Linked DNA regions of Homo sapiens: region 2 is linked to region 1. The links are contacts of gene promoters, found by promoter capture Hi-C in blood cells and fetal thymus (Javierre and others, 2016). All regions are on one chromosome and are shown on one strand. Each heading gives the region's core, a stretch centred on a gene start or on the middle of the fragment in contact. The rest is flanking DNA. Distances are from core to core; before and after follow the strand shown.

Region 1 (6,149 bases), core at 2,393-4,892:
TGACAGAGTGAGATCCAGTCTCAAAAAAGAAAAAAAAAAAGATTAAAGAAAAAAAGAGATAAGCATGGGAGGGAGGCTACTACAATAGAATAGTGAGTCAAAAGAATTCAGGGATATGGAGGCTTCTTGGACAAAATAATGCTTGAGCTGAGTATTTTCTTTTTTTTTTTTGTGGGGGAAGGGTTTTGTTTGTCTTAAGACAGGGTTTTGCTCTGTTGCCCAGACTGGAGTGCAGTGGCATAATGATGCAATTATGGCTCACTGCAGCCTGGACCTCCTGGGCTCAGGTGATCCTCCCATCTCAGCCTCCAGAGTAGCTGGGACTACAGACTCACGTGGCCACTCTGGCTAATTTTTGTATTTTTGGTAGGGACAGGGTTTTGCCATGTTGCCCAGGTTGGTCTCGAATTCCTAGGCTTAAGCCATCCTCTCACCTCTGTCTCCGAAAGTGTTGGGATTACAGGCATGAGCCACTGTGCCTGATCTGAGCTGAGTTTTGAAGATAGGCAATGGGGCACAGCATGTGTTAAATTACTGTGGAATGAAATAGCATTATACATTTGAGGAACCAAAAACAGTGGCAGTTTGGCTGAAGAGAAGAATGAGGTGGCATGATAGTGTTATGGTAGATTAGACTGTAGGATGGATCTAGATCAATTTATATGCTTATGTTAAAATTTGGGCTTTATACTAAATTTAGAAATCACTAAACTATGTTAAACAGAGGAATGACAGAATCATACCTTTGTTTTAGGAAGATCAATCAGGCAGCAGTGATAGTGCAAAGTGGGGGTAGAATGGAGGTGGGAAGGTTTAAACTAAAGTATAAAGAGAGACAATAGAATCCACAGGAAAGATATTACTGAGAATGAAATTGGTTTGTGGGGGCTGACTGAAAGGTAGTAGAATGACTGCTAGGCTTCAAGTTTGGATGTAGTGTCACTTAATAAGGTAGATAATAGAAGTAGAGATTTTGTTTTTGTTTTGAGGGTAGGTGAGGAGACAAAAAGGATAAGAAATCCAGTCTTTCCTTAAGCTCAAGTTACCAGTTATAAGTGTGCATGTTAGTCTTCTTTTGATGCTATCATCAGGTCAACCATTCTCACAAATGGTTTTTGTTGTTGTTGTTGTTTTTGGGATGGAATCTCACTCTCTCTTTCACCCAGGCTACAGTGTAGTGGCATGATGTCGGCTCACTGCCCCCTCTGCCTCCAGAGAAGCTGGGATTACAGGCAAGCGCCACCACGCCCAGCTAATTTTTGTACTTTTTGGTAGAGACGGGGTTTTGCCATGTTGGCCAGGCTGGTCTCCAACTCCTGAGCTCAAGTGATCTGCCCGCTTCGGCCTCCCAAAGTGCTGGGATTATAGGTGTGAGCCACCGCACCTGGCCACAAATGTCTCTGTGTGTGTGTGTGTGTGTGTGTATGTGTGTGTATGTCTTTGAGGCAGCATAATTTTTCTGAGCTTTTTATGTGCTATGACGCCCCCTAAAAAGGAATTGGATGAATAAACAGGTTGTATGTTGGTAACTCTAAGATAAATAGTACTTTAATAATTTGAAGAAATATGTAATCTTAACACTTTGTGAAGCCAAGGTGGGTGGACCACTTGAGCCAGGAGTTGGAGACTAGCCTGGGCATCATGACAAAACCCCGTCTCTACAAAAAATACAAAAATTAGCTGGGCTTGGTGGATGCACACCTGGAGTCCCAGCTATCAGGAGGCTAAAGTGGGAGGACCACCTCAGCCAGGGAGCTCCAGGTTGCAACAAGCAGAGCTCACACCACTGCATTCCAGCCCAGGCAACAGAGTGAGACCCTGTCTCAAAAAAAAAAAATAAATAAAATAATAATTTGAAGAAATGGTCCTTAACATTATAGTACTGCAATCTAAGATCTCATTTCATATAGAAATAAAACATGGCAGCATGAGTAACAGGTCCAATCTGCTTTCCATTAAACTGTAATAACAGTAAAGCAGATGTGATAAAATAAGATGCATTACTTAATCTCTTTTGAAATTACTTCCTGATTGGTTGGTAGTGCATACTCCATAGTACAAGTTTTATTGGCTTTTGCAGTAAAGAAAAAAAATTTTAAAAAGTAACAAATTTTCAATGCAATTTTCCTGCATCGCTATTAATATAATTACTGAACCTAATTTCCTTATGTTGTTAATTATTTTTGTCTTATTTTTCAAACAAATGCTTCTTAGCTATATTAATTTTTAGAAACACACTAGTGCATTAGGATATTTTCTAGGAAACTAAGCACATAAAAGTACCCACTATTGTACTTAAAATATTAGCCTTGTCTCTTATGTATATGTTACATTCCTCAAACTTTTTAAATTTTTTGCCGACACGGAGTCTCGCTTTGTCGCCCAGGCTGGAGTGCAGTGGTGCGATCTCGGCTCTCTGCAACCTCAGCCTCCTGGGCTCAAGCAATTCTCGTGCCTCAGCCTCCCCAGGAGCTGGGACTACAGGTGTGCGCCACCATGCCCGGCTAATTTTTGTATTTTTAGTAGAAATGGGGTTTCACAATGTTGGCCAAGCTGGTCTCGAACTCCTGGCCTCAAGTGATCGCCCACCTCGGCTTCCCAAAGTGCTGGGATTACAGGCTTGAGCAGCCGCGCCCGGCCATATTCACTTAAACATTTAATGACCCAGGAGAACATTCATCTAGGATTTTAAGTTGTACTCACAGTGCTTTTATTTTCTGTTTCGATCAAAATAGTCTATTGATGACAATATTTGTGAGCCCATTCATTTCTACCGTATCAAATTGTTAGTCTAGCCAGTCTCCTTCAAACTTCTCTCCCTCTACCCATCATCGTCAAGATCTAAAGGAATTCACTACCTCTTCTTCTCCCAAGAAAAAAAAAATCGCTCCTCCCCCTCTCCCAACCCCCCCACAACCCATTCCAGAAAAGGAAAGAAGAGGGGACGCAAAGTGGAATAAGTTACGACGGGCGACCGAGCGCATAGAAATGGGACCAAAGCCCAGGCTCAAGACAGAGACGAGGAATCAGTAACCACAGCCGGAGGATCTTGGCTATTTGCCAGCAGAGAACTGACTGGTTCTAAGAAACCAGAGGCAGAGCGAGTGACAGGAAGGGAAAGAGGGCCCACCCTTGGGACTGCCTGAAACACTCAAAGAATGAAAAAGAAACGTCAGGAATCCGAGACGGGATGCGGTCGGCCAGAGCGACCAGCCAGGTTAACAACCAGCTCAGAAAGCCGGGACACGGGTGAGAGACCCCTGGGAAGGAAACAGCGCCCGGGGACGGCCTGCTAAAAGGAAACTGATAACCAGGAAGCCTAAGGCCGCCTCGCTTCCAAAAGTCAGAGTCGGAGCCCAGGTGTCCGGTAGCTGCGGCCAGACACCGGATCGGGTCTGAGGGCGGGCCTAGGGGCGGAGCCCGAGCTCTTTCCCCGCCCTCTAACGGCGACCCGGGCTGCGTTCTCAGTGCGCCGGCGTAGGGTGAGGCCGGACTCTATTTGGCGATTAAGCGTGAGGCTGCGTTCGCTACCCAGCATGCTGTGCGCTAGTGACGGCCCTCCGCCTATCCCCTTCCCAACTCTCCCCCCACCCCTCCCGCCGAGGCCCCCCCTTCCCCTAAAGTGAGTGAGTGAGACGGGCAGATGGAGGAGGGATTGTAATGGCGGCAGCCGGCAGCTCCCTGCTCTGACCCACGGCAGGCACACAGCAACGACCCCTTCCCCGCCCCTCTCCCGGCCGGCCTCCGCCCCGCAGCCAGCGCGGGGCCACCCTCTCCGGCCCTTCCCCCAGCTGTCGGCGTCTCGCCCTGCGCCCCGGCCGGGGCCCCACACACAATGGACGAGCTTGCCGGAGGCGGTGGTGGCGGCCCGGGGATGGCGGCCCCTCCCCGGCAGCAGCAGGGACCTGGGGGGAACCTGGGCCTTTCGCCCGGGGGGAACGGAGCGGCGGGCGGCGGGGGTCCTCCGGCCTCCGAGGGAGCGGGTCCCGCGGCAGGCCCCGAGCTGTCCCGGCCGCAGCAGTACACTATCCCGGGGATACTGCACTACATCCAGCACGAGTGGGCTCGGTTCGAGATGGAGCGGGCGCACTGGGAGGTGGAACGGGCCGAACTGCAGGTACCTCGTTGGGGTCGGTGTGCGGGAGCTGCGGCGGCTGGGTTCCCGGCCGGGGGGTGGGGCTGGGGACTCCACTCAGCCGGAGCCGGCGCCTTGGGAGGCCGAGCGGAACCTACCTGTGCTGCTCAGGTTGTGATGGTCCTCTCAACGGCTTTTCCTGGAGTCCCCCTCCCTCTTTCCCGCATAAGCTTGCTCCCCAACCTTCACTGGCTACGCGGTGCGGGCCTCCTCGGGGCAGCCATTTTGGCTTTTAGTATGGCGTCTGCGGGGGCTCCTCCGGAGGCGGCCTTCCCGGGCCTCCGGGGCTTGGGACCGAGCACCTCTCTGTGGGAGAGTCCGGTTTGGGGCCTCTCAACACTGAGTTTGCTCTTGTTTGTTCCTCTTGAGATGAAGAGCCCGAAGAGAGGGACTAGGATAGGCATCTTACCCCCCTTTTCCGGACCACCCCCCTTTCCGATTTGGCGTATCTGGCCCCCTCCCTCAGACTTGGTACGCGCTTGCCCCTTGACAGCCACGCTTCTTTCCTGGGCTGCTAGGGTGCACAGTGACTTGGGACTGACCTGTGAAGTTTTATTTCCCATCGTCAACTTTAAGTACTTTCTCACCTGAGATGCTGCCTTACTCACTTGGATTCTCTGTAGTTATTCCTTACTTAGTGACTCATCAACGCTTTCAGCACTGAATTTTTCTTTTTACAGTACTCTCCACTAGATCTCCTTTCCCCCATCCGTTTCTTTATCTATAAAAAAACCAAACCAGACGATCGATGCTGTATTTATGAAACGACTGAAGAGATTTAATATTCCCTTGAAGTGAAACGTAGTTATATCATGTTACTTACTCTTGCAGGAGAAGCAAAGTGAGATGTTCTCGGAACCCTTCATAGTTGAGCTTGACTCGATCCTCATAATGTGAACCTTTGATAGGCTGCACATTTGGAAGCTGTTGGTAGTTAACAGCTCATGTCCTGGATCTCAAAATTGCTGCATCTTTTTGAAAGGGTTATTTAACTTTCTTGGGTATTTGTGTTTATTTTTAAATACCTTTCCAGGGCAAATTTAGGCTTAGAAGGAAAAAGCGTGTGTCTAAATAGTATTGCACCTGTTCTTCAGACTGTTGTGTATTTAGGGGGTAAGCAGTATTTGCTGTCATATATGTCATATGCCTATGGTGAATCGTTAGGCAAATGTAGTGCTGAAAGGAGGAGGATTGGATTAACTAGAAAGGGTGTCCTCAAATATGCATCTCTTTAGTTTGGTTCTGAACTAGTAAACTTTTATATGACTCCACAAAGTGGGTGAAGTTAAACTTTTCAAAAGTAAAAAATACTTGGGTATTTTGACACTGTATGAAGTCTTAAAAAAAAGTAACACTTGTTAGTCATTTCAGTGCTTTACAATTGTGTTTTGATATAATATTGGGCTTTAAAATTACATAACTTTAAAAAAGCTGAAGTCAAAACTGGTTTAAGTTGTGTACAGTCTGCTTTAACATACTTAAAATTTATAGAATTCTGTTGGTATACAGCTTTCTACTACATACTGCAAACTTAATTTTCTGTGTGAGTAAAGTAAGTAAGGCATTTGTTTTTAAAATTTGGATTGACAAATGCAGTAAGGCCTAAGCTCACTAAATAATACTTCACCAGTCCCTGCTATGGTTTCTTAGACCTTTGTACTGTTGTATGCAAGTTTGGATTTCAACACTCTTCAAGTTAGCAATTGCATTTTTCACCCATAAACTTCACTAATGTAAGCAGCTGAGAAGAAAGATATCTTGTGCCCAAATTAGTAAAACCTATACTATATATTAAAGAAGCCTTTATTGCCTGCTCTAGCATTTGCTTTCCCTTCTAGGTCTCCTTAACAGCAGCAGCAGTGTTTTAAGGTAGATTCCTTTTGCTTGCTTGCTTGCTTTCAATTCTATTGGTACAGTACTGTTATTAGCCATCCTAAGTTTTTGTTTGTTTCCTTGTTTTGAAGAAGTCCTACAGTGTTTCTAGACTCTTTTTTATTTCATACTGATTCTTTTG
Region 2 (6,551 bases), core at 2,093-4,592, 420 kb after region 1:
TGAGTCTGAAACACCTTGTGATACCATATAGCAAAAAAGCTTACAAAGACCATTAAGGCTCACATCGAAAGAATTAAAAACAATAATATAAAGAGACTTATACTGGTCCAAGACATATAAACTTCAGTAGTAATAGTAACTATAAAGATTTTAAACACATCAAATATATTTAAATCTATGGATTAATGATACTACTTTTTTTTAAATGAATTTATCAGGTTTGAGATGATATCTGGTATTGGCTTTAAAATAATACTGGAGTCAATAACAAGGGTAGGATAAAGATGAACAAGACAGGCACAAGTTAATAAGTGTTAGATCTGGATGGTGATTACAGACTTTCATATGTGTATTTCCATTGTTTAAAAAAATTGTAAGAGTGTAAGGAGATACATAAGTTGTCTAACTTAGACCAGTGTTCTAAACTAAAGGACAGCAGGAATCATACATACCTTGTTAATCAAAGAACGGTCAATATATGTATTACCCAGCAGATAAAAGGTACTCAATAAATAGTTATTAAATGAATGCACAGAGACAGAATAGTTGGCTCATGTGGTAAGAGTTTTAAAAAGAATATTTTTTAGAAAAAAATTATAATCTGAAGCAGTGGTTATTTCTATGAAAGCATCATACATTTACACAATTCTTTTTTCATTTTTTTGAGAGGGAATCTTGCTCTGTCACCCAGGCTGGAGTGCAGTGGCATGATCTTAGCTCACTGCAACCTCCGCCTCTTGGGTTCAAGCAATTCTCCTGCCTCAGCCTCCCAAGTAGCTGAGATTACAGGAACCCACCACCACGCCCGGCTAATTTTTGTATTTTAGTACAGACGGGGTTTCACCATGTTGGTCAGGCTGGTCTCAAACTCCTGACCTCAAATGATCTGCCTGCCCCAGCCTCCCGAAGTGCTGGGATTACAGGTGTGAGTGAGCCACCATGCCCGACCTACACAATGCTTATTAAATGATCAGAACAGTAACCATCCTAAAAAGGCTTAAGTTATTATTTAAAAATAGCATTTAAATTTTTTTCTGAGAAAAACATCTCACTTATTACCAAATATATCTCACATTACAAGATAATTAACCACTTTAAACATGTAATTTGAAAGAGCCATATATTAATAGAAACAACTTACCTTTCAAAGGGTGTGTGGACTCTCTGAATTACATGGTAGCCAAGTATGTCTTTTACTAACATATATTTATCACTTAATGTCGTTATAAGTCTGAGACATCCAATTAACTCAAGGTAGTTATAGCATTCATTTATTATTGACTTTAAGTCAGCTACAGTTGTTGCAGTATTTATCTGTAATGAAGGAGAAAATACAGCCACTTTACTCATTTACTTTTGAGTGACATGCACATTTCAAATGATACTTGTTAATTTATACTCAAATTTCTTAGTACATATGGGTGCAGTAAAAGTAAACCAAGAAATATTCTTCTAGAATAAATGTCTGATCATCCAGTTCAACAAATTTGTCTATTTCTGCCTTCAAGAAATCCAGAGTATAATGCCACTTTACTACGTGAAACTATTTATAAAAAAGGAAATAACTGACATTGAAAAATTATATAGCACTAGGTAAGACTAGCTACTAGGGAGGCTGAGGTGGGAGGCCTGCTTGAGGCCAGAAGTTCAAGAACATCCTGGGCAACACAGCTAGCCCCCCTCTAAAGAAAAAAAAAAAAGGCCTGGTGTGGGTGGTATACACCTGTAGTCCTAGCTACTCTGGAAGATGAGGTAGAAGGATTTTGAGCCCAGGAGTTGGAGGTTCAGTGAGCTATGATCACACCAATGTACTCCAGCCTGGGTGACAGACTGAGACCTTATCTCTTAAAAAGAAAAGAAAAAAAAAGAGAAAAGTTACCTAGTACTAGATAGGCAAGAAAGATGACCTGAGAATTCATGAAAAAGAGTAACAGCTGAGAATTAAAAGATGGACAGAATTTTATCAAGAATATTTTAGTGAACAGCATAAACAAAGAAATACTTGGCCATTTATGTGCAAGACACTTTCATACAGGTTAGCTCTTAAAGGTACAGATGGAGAAAGTTAAAAATAGGAAACAATCCATTAACAGAAAATTTACTTGCAATTTCCTTTTCCTAAAACATTCTTAGAGATTTACATGACTTCTTTTCATTCATTCAAAATCTCTGCTGAAATCTCCTAAGTTTTTCATGACTATTCTGCTCAAAATACTATCTTTACACCCTGTCGGAGTAATAATTGGGTATATGTTGCCTCATCCCTGCAAACCCTCAACCCTGAGTTTCAGCTGGGCACATAGCCAAACTTTTGCTGCAGCTAGGTGGGGCTACATGACTGTTCAATGGGATGTAAGTAAAAACAACATGTCAAACTTCCCTGCTCTCAACTTCCACTTTTCTCCTTTAAGAGCAAGCTTCAACCATGTGGATGCAAACAATAATGCTAAGTGTTACACGATAATGAGAGGAAGGAACTCAAGTCCTTAGACGGTTTTGTAAATCACAACTCTATCTCGAAAACAGAGGGCCATCTGTATAAAGGGCCAGATAGCATTTTATGCTTTTCAAACTATATGGTATCTGTTGCAGCTACTCAACTCTGCCACTGTAGCGTGAAAGCAGTCAGATCAGTAGCAAATGGGCATGGCTGCATTCCAATGTAACTATTTACCAAACAGGCAACAAGCCAGAACGTGACTTACAGGCCATTTTTTGCCAACTCTTACCCTAAAATCTAGACAATGGATTTTACAGAACAGTAAACATCTGCCTTGTTTGAGCCACTGTCTTTCTGGGTCTATGAGATACAGAAGTTTAGCCTAAAACCTAACTTGTATATACTCCAACCCTTATCCATCTCCTTTTATTCTGTTGTATGTATGCATGTATGTATTTATGTATACATTTATTTATTTGGGATGGAGTCTCACTCTGTTGCCCATGCTGGAGTGCAGTGGCATGATCCCGGCTCACTGCCACCTCTGCCTCCCGGGCTCAAGCGAGCCTTTCAAGCAGCTGGGACTATAGGCGCGCGCCACCACACCTGGCTAATTTTTTTGTATTTTTAGTAAAGATGGGGTTTCACCATGTTGGCCAGGCTGGTCTCGAACTGCTGACCCCGGTGATCCACCCACCTGTTCTCCCAAAGTGTTGGGATTACAGGCGTGACCCACTGCGCCCGGCCATATTCTGTTTTATTTAGCATTATAATACATTTTACTACGTGATGGCATATTACATTTGTTGTTTATCTTCTGTGTTCTCTCTTAATGTAAATTCCAAGAAGGCAGATACTTTGCTTCACTACTCTATCTTTAGTAACAAAACAGTACAGAATACATAGTATTTCTTAAATAAATGAACAAACACTGGATAAAAAGTACAGAAACTGGAGTAGATAAAGCCATGAAGAGAGGTGAAGGTCTTAAATGCCCTAATGAAGAGCTTCAACTTCGTTCAACAGGCAATGAGAAGCCACTGGGGGATTCCTGAGGAAGAAAGCAATATGGTCAAAACTGTACTTTTGGAAGAATCATCCCAAATAAGAATATTAGAACAACATTCTAATTGTCTAAGCCTAGGGAAAATTTGAGTTTGGTAAAATAGGCACACTAGAAACAGGAAGGAAAGGTTGACAATAAGTCAGTCTTAGAGGCAGGTGACTTGACATATAACTGGAAAATGGAGGAGTATGAAAATGACTCTCCAAGACAGCTTGGAAGTAAGAAGTCTCTTGGAAAGAAAAGGCAAACAGGTAAAAACACAAAAAAGCCCCACAAAAAACAATCAAACAAAAAATTCTGGGAAAAATACTATTTTTATCTTAAACATGTTAGACTCAATGTGCTAGCAAGACCCAGGTCTTATCTGTATATAAAAGTCCGGGGGCTCAAAAATACAGGTCTGTAAATCATTCAGAAAGATTACAGGAGAGAAGAAGCTCTCCAAATAATAAAGAATGATGACTGTTAAGACAACACTGAAAAATGCTAAGTTTCAGGGGTAAGAAGAAGTAAGAAGCATTAAAGAAGAGAGAATCATCAGAAGTAGGAGGAAGTACAATATTAAATAAAATATTGCAGAGAAATTCTAAGTGGTAATTGCAGAAGTCACAGCAGATGAAAAATTAGAAAAGGCCTTTGGACATGGATATTTAGCTCCCTGGATATAAACTATGAACTAGCTAACTTGAGACTGGTGGTAGGGACAGAAGCCTGATTACAAGAAATAAATAGGAAATACGAAGTAGAGACAATGAAGCTTAAATATACTTTTTTTTTAGTAAAGAGGGCACAAAAAGAAAAACGAAGAATTAAAGGGTCAATTTAAAACATGATGTTAGGATAAGCAGTCTTAGGGCAAATAAACAGAATTGTTGTAATACACTGTAGCAACTCACACTTCAATAGTGCTTACTGTGTGATTTAGAAACTGAGGTTTAGTAAGATTAATATGCCCAAAGTGACACAACATATAGTAGTTATAAGAGTTGGCATTCAAAGTAAAATCTGACTTCCAAGCCTGTGCTTTTTTTTTGAGACAGTGTCTCCCTCTGTTGCCCAGGTTGGAGTGCAGTGGTGTGAGCTCAGCTCACTGTAACCTCCATCTGCCGGATTCAAATTATTCTTGTGACTCAGCCTCCAGAGTAGCTGGGATTACAGGCACATGCCACCACGCCTGGCTAAGGCCTATGCTTTTAATCATTAAACAACACTGCCTGTTAATTGAGACAATGGATAGAATATGCTTAAGTAGGAGGGAGGTTAAGGAAGAAAAGTTAAATGGCTTGCATTGTCTCAGTTTTTAAAGCAGTAACATGTTGGCAATGACACTTATATGGCATTATGATAAATGAGTGTTTGCACATGTGACATGTTTAGTACAGGTCCCATTATAAGTGCTGAATAAATGAACTATTTTTAGGCGGACGCATTAAGTCCTCCCCGATCCCTACCACTTGTTTCCCTTTGGAAGAAATTCAGCCTAGTCTTTCTCTCCATCTATCATTCATACCTCCCTATAGAAGGAAGGAAAAGTATTCTAACTGGTAAGCCAAATCCTTCCTCTCTTCAGACCCATCGGCCTCCATCAAAGTGCACTTTCATCTGCTTTCTAGCTTGCAATAGGGAATCTGCCTCACGTTGTCTCTAGCAAGGCAGGCAAATCCATGTATTTCTGAGGAGTATTCACAAGCCATGGTGAACACAGACCAAAATCACATTATCCAACTGGTTTTACCAACATTAAACGTGGCACTTTAATCTCCAGCCATCTGACTTTTAAAACTATCTTTTAACTGGTTCAGAACTCCACTGGTAAACAGAAATATATGTTTACAATCCCTAACTCCTTCATAGATAATACTATTATTTTATTGCAGATCAGTCATTTACATTAAAAGATACCTAGAATGTAGTGTGCATTTTAATAAACAGATACATTGCTTACCCTGATTATAATCTGTGCCACATCAAAGTCTGAAACATCATCTAAAATTGGCTGGGTATTTTCTGGTCCATAAACAAGGCAGTTAAACAAGGTTTTAGAAAAGAAACCAGGTGAAGGACCACCGTGAACTAAAGAAATGGCAAGCATTTTGCCAGCTTCATAGTAAAGATTCTCTTTCAGAGCTGTAAATACAGATGAAAATATATCAAATACACTTCTATTATTATAAGATAACCATCATTTTTTATATTAAAAATTAGTCCAAAAATCTAAGCATTAGATAAATATAATTCTTAGAAGCTATCATTATGTAGAAAATATAGATCTTACCTAAAATATAAAAAAAGACACATTTTTCTGAATATAAAGTAAAAATCTATTGTAGAAAACATAAAACACAATAAACCTACCACCATAATAACCACTGTGAACACTTTGGTGTACAGTCATGCACCATATAAGGATGTTGTGGTCAAGAATGACCAAATACACTAAGGTGGTCCCTAAGATTATAATGAAGCTGAAAAACTCCTATGACCTAGTGATGTTATACTGTCATAGCACAATGCATTACCTTTTGTATATTTAGATATACATATACTTACCATTGTGTTACAATTGTCTACAGTATTCAGTACAGTAACATGTTATACAGGTTTGCAGTCTAGAACCAATAGGCTTTACCATAGAGCCTTGGTGTGTAGTAGGCTACACCAACTAGGTTTGCGTAAGTATACTTTATGATCTTTGCATGATGAAATTGCCTACTGACACATTTCTCAGAACATATCCCTGTTACTAAGTGACAAATGACTGTACTTGTACCTCTTTGTGTATATAAATATAAAAAGTTTGACTTATGCTTTATCCACTTATTATATTGTAAACTTTTTATCATACTACTCAAAATTACTCAAATCTACAGTTAATAAATGCATTTAGACTAACTTAGAGATGTACTATAATGCAAACCATCCCCCTGGCTATCCTGGCTAAGTGATATTTCTAACTTTATGAGACATAATGTTACAGTCAACATACTCACATATTCTTGTTTATATTTATTTGATTAGGATTCCTACAGATGGTATTAGTAGGTC

The links. The method cuts DNA at HindIII sites, captures the fragments that hold promoters and counts their contacts. A CHiCAGO score of 5 or more calls a contact.
Region 2: a fragment that was not itself captured here is called in contact with the fragment with the promoter of STRN3 in region 1 in 1 of 17 cell types (neutrophils); the score reaches 5.0 in neutrophils.

Annotation. Positions count from the first base shown.
Region 1 is chr14:31,023,872-31,030,020 of GRCh38, reverse strand. STRN3 (striatin 3) reads left to right here and starts at 3,642. Exons shown (of 18, transcript NM_001083893.2): 1 at 3,642-4,117. The coding sequence starts at 3,836. AP4S1 (adaptor related protein complex 4 subunit sigma 1) reads right to left here and starts at 4,372. Exons shown (of 6, transcript NM_001128126.3): 1 at 4,234-4,372. RefSeq lists enhancers at 3,144-3,303, 4,414-4,523, 4,594-4,693 and silencers at 3,434-3,753, 3,844-4,103, 4,243-4,424. The HindIII fragment of the contact is 12,759 bases long and covers 1-4,307 here.
Region 2 is chr14:30,606,970-30,613,520 of GRCh38, reverse strand. G2E3 (G2/M-phase specific E3 ubiquitin protein ligase) reads right to left here. Exons shown (of 15, transcript NM_017769.5): 12 at 5,452-5,633; 13 at 1,142-1,314. Among named protein-coding and RNA genes, the nearest start is that of SCFD1, 12 kb to the left of the region's middle. The HindIII fragment of the contact is 1,846 bases long and covers 2,420-4,265 here.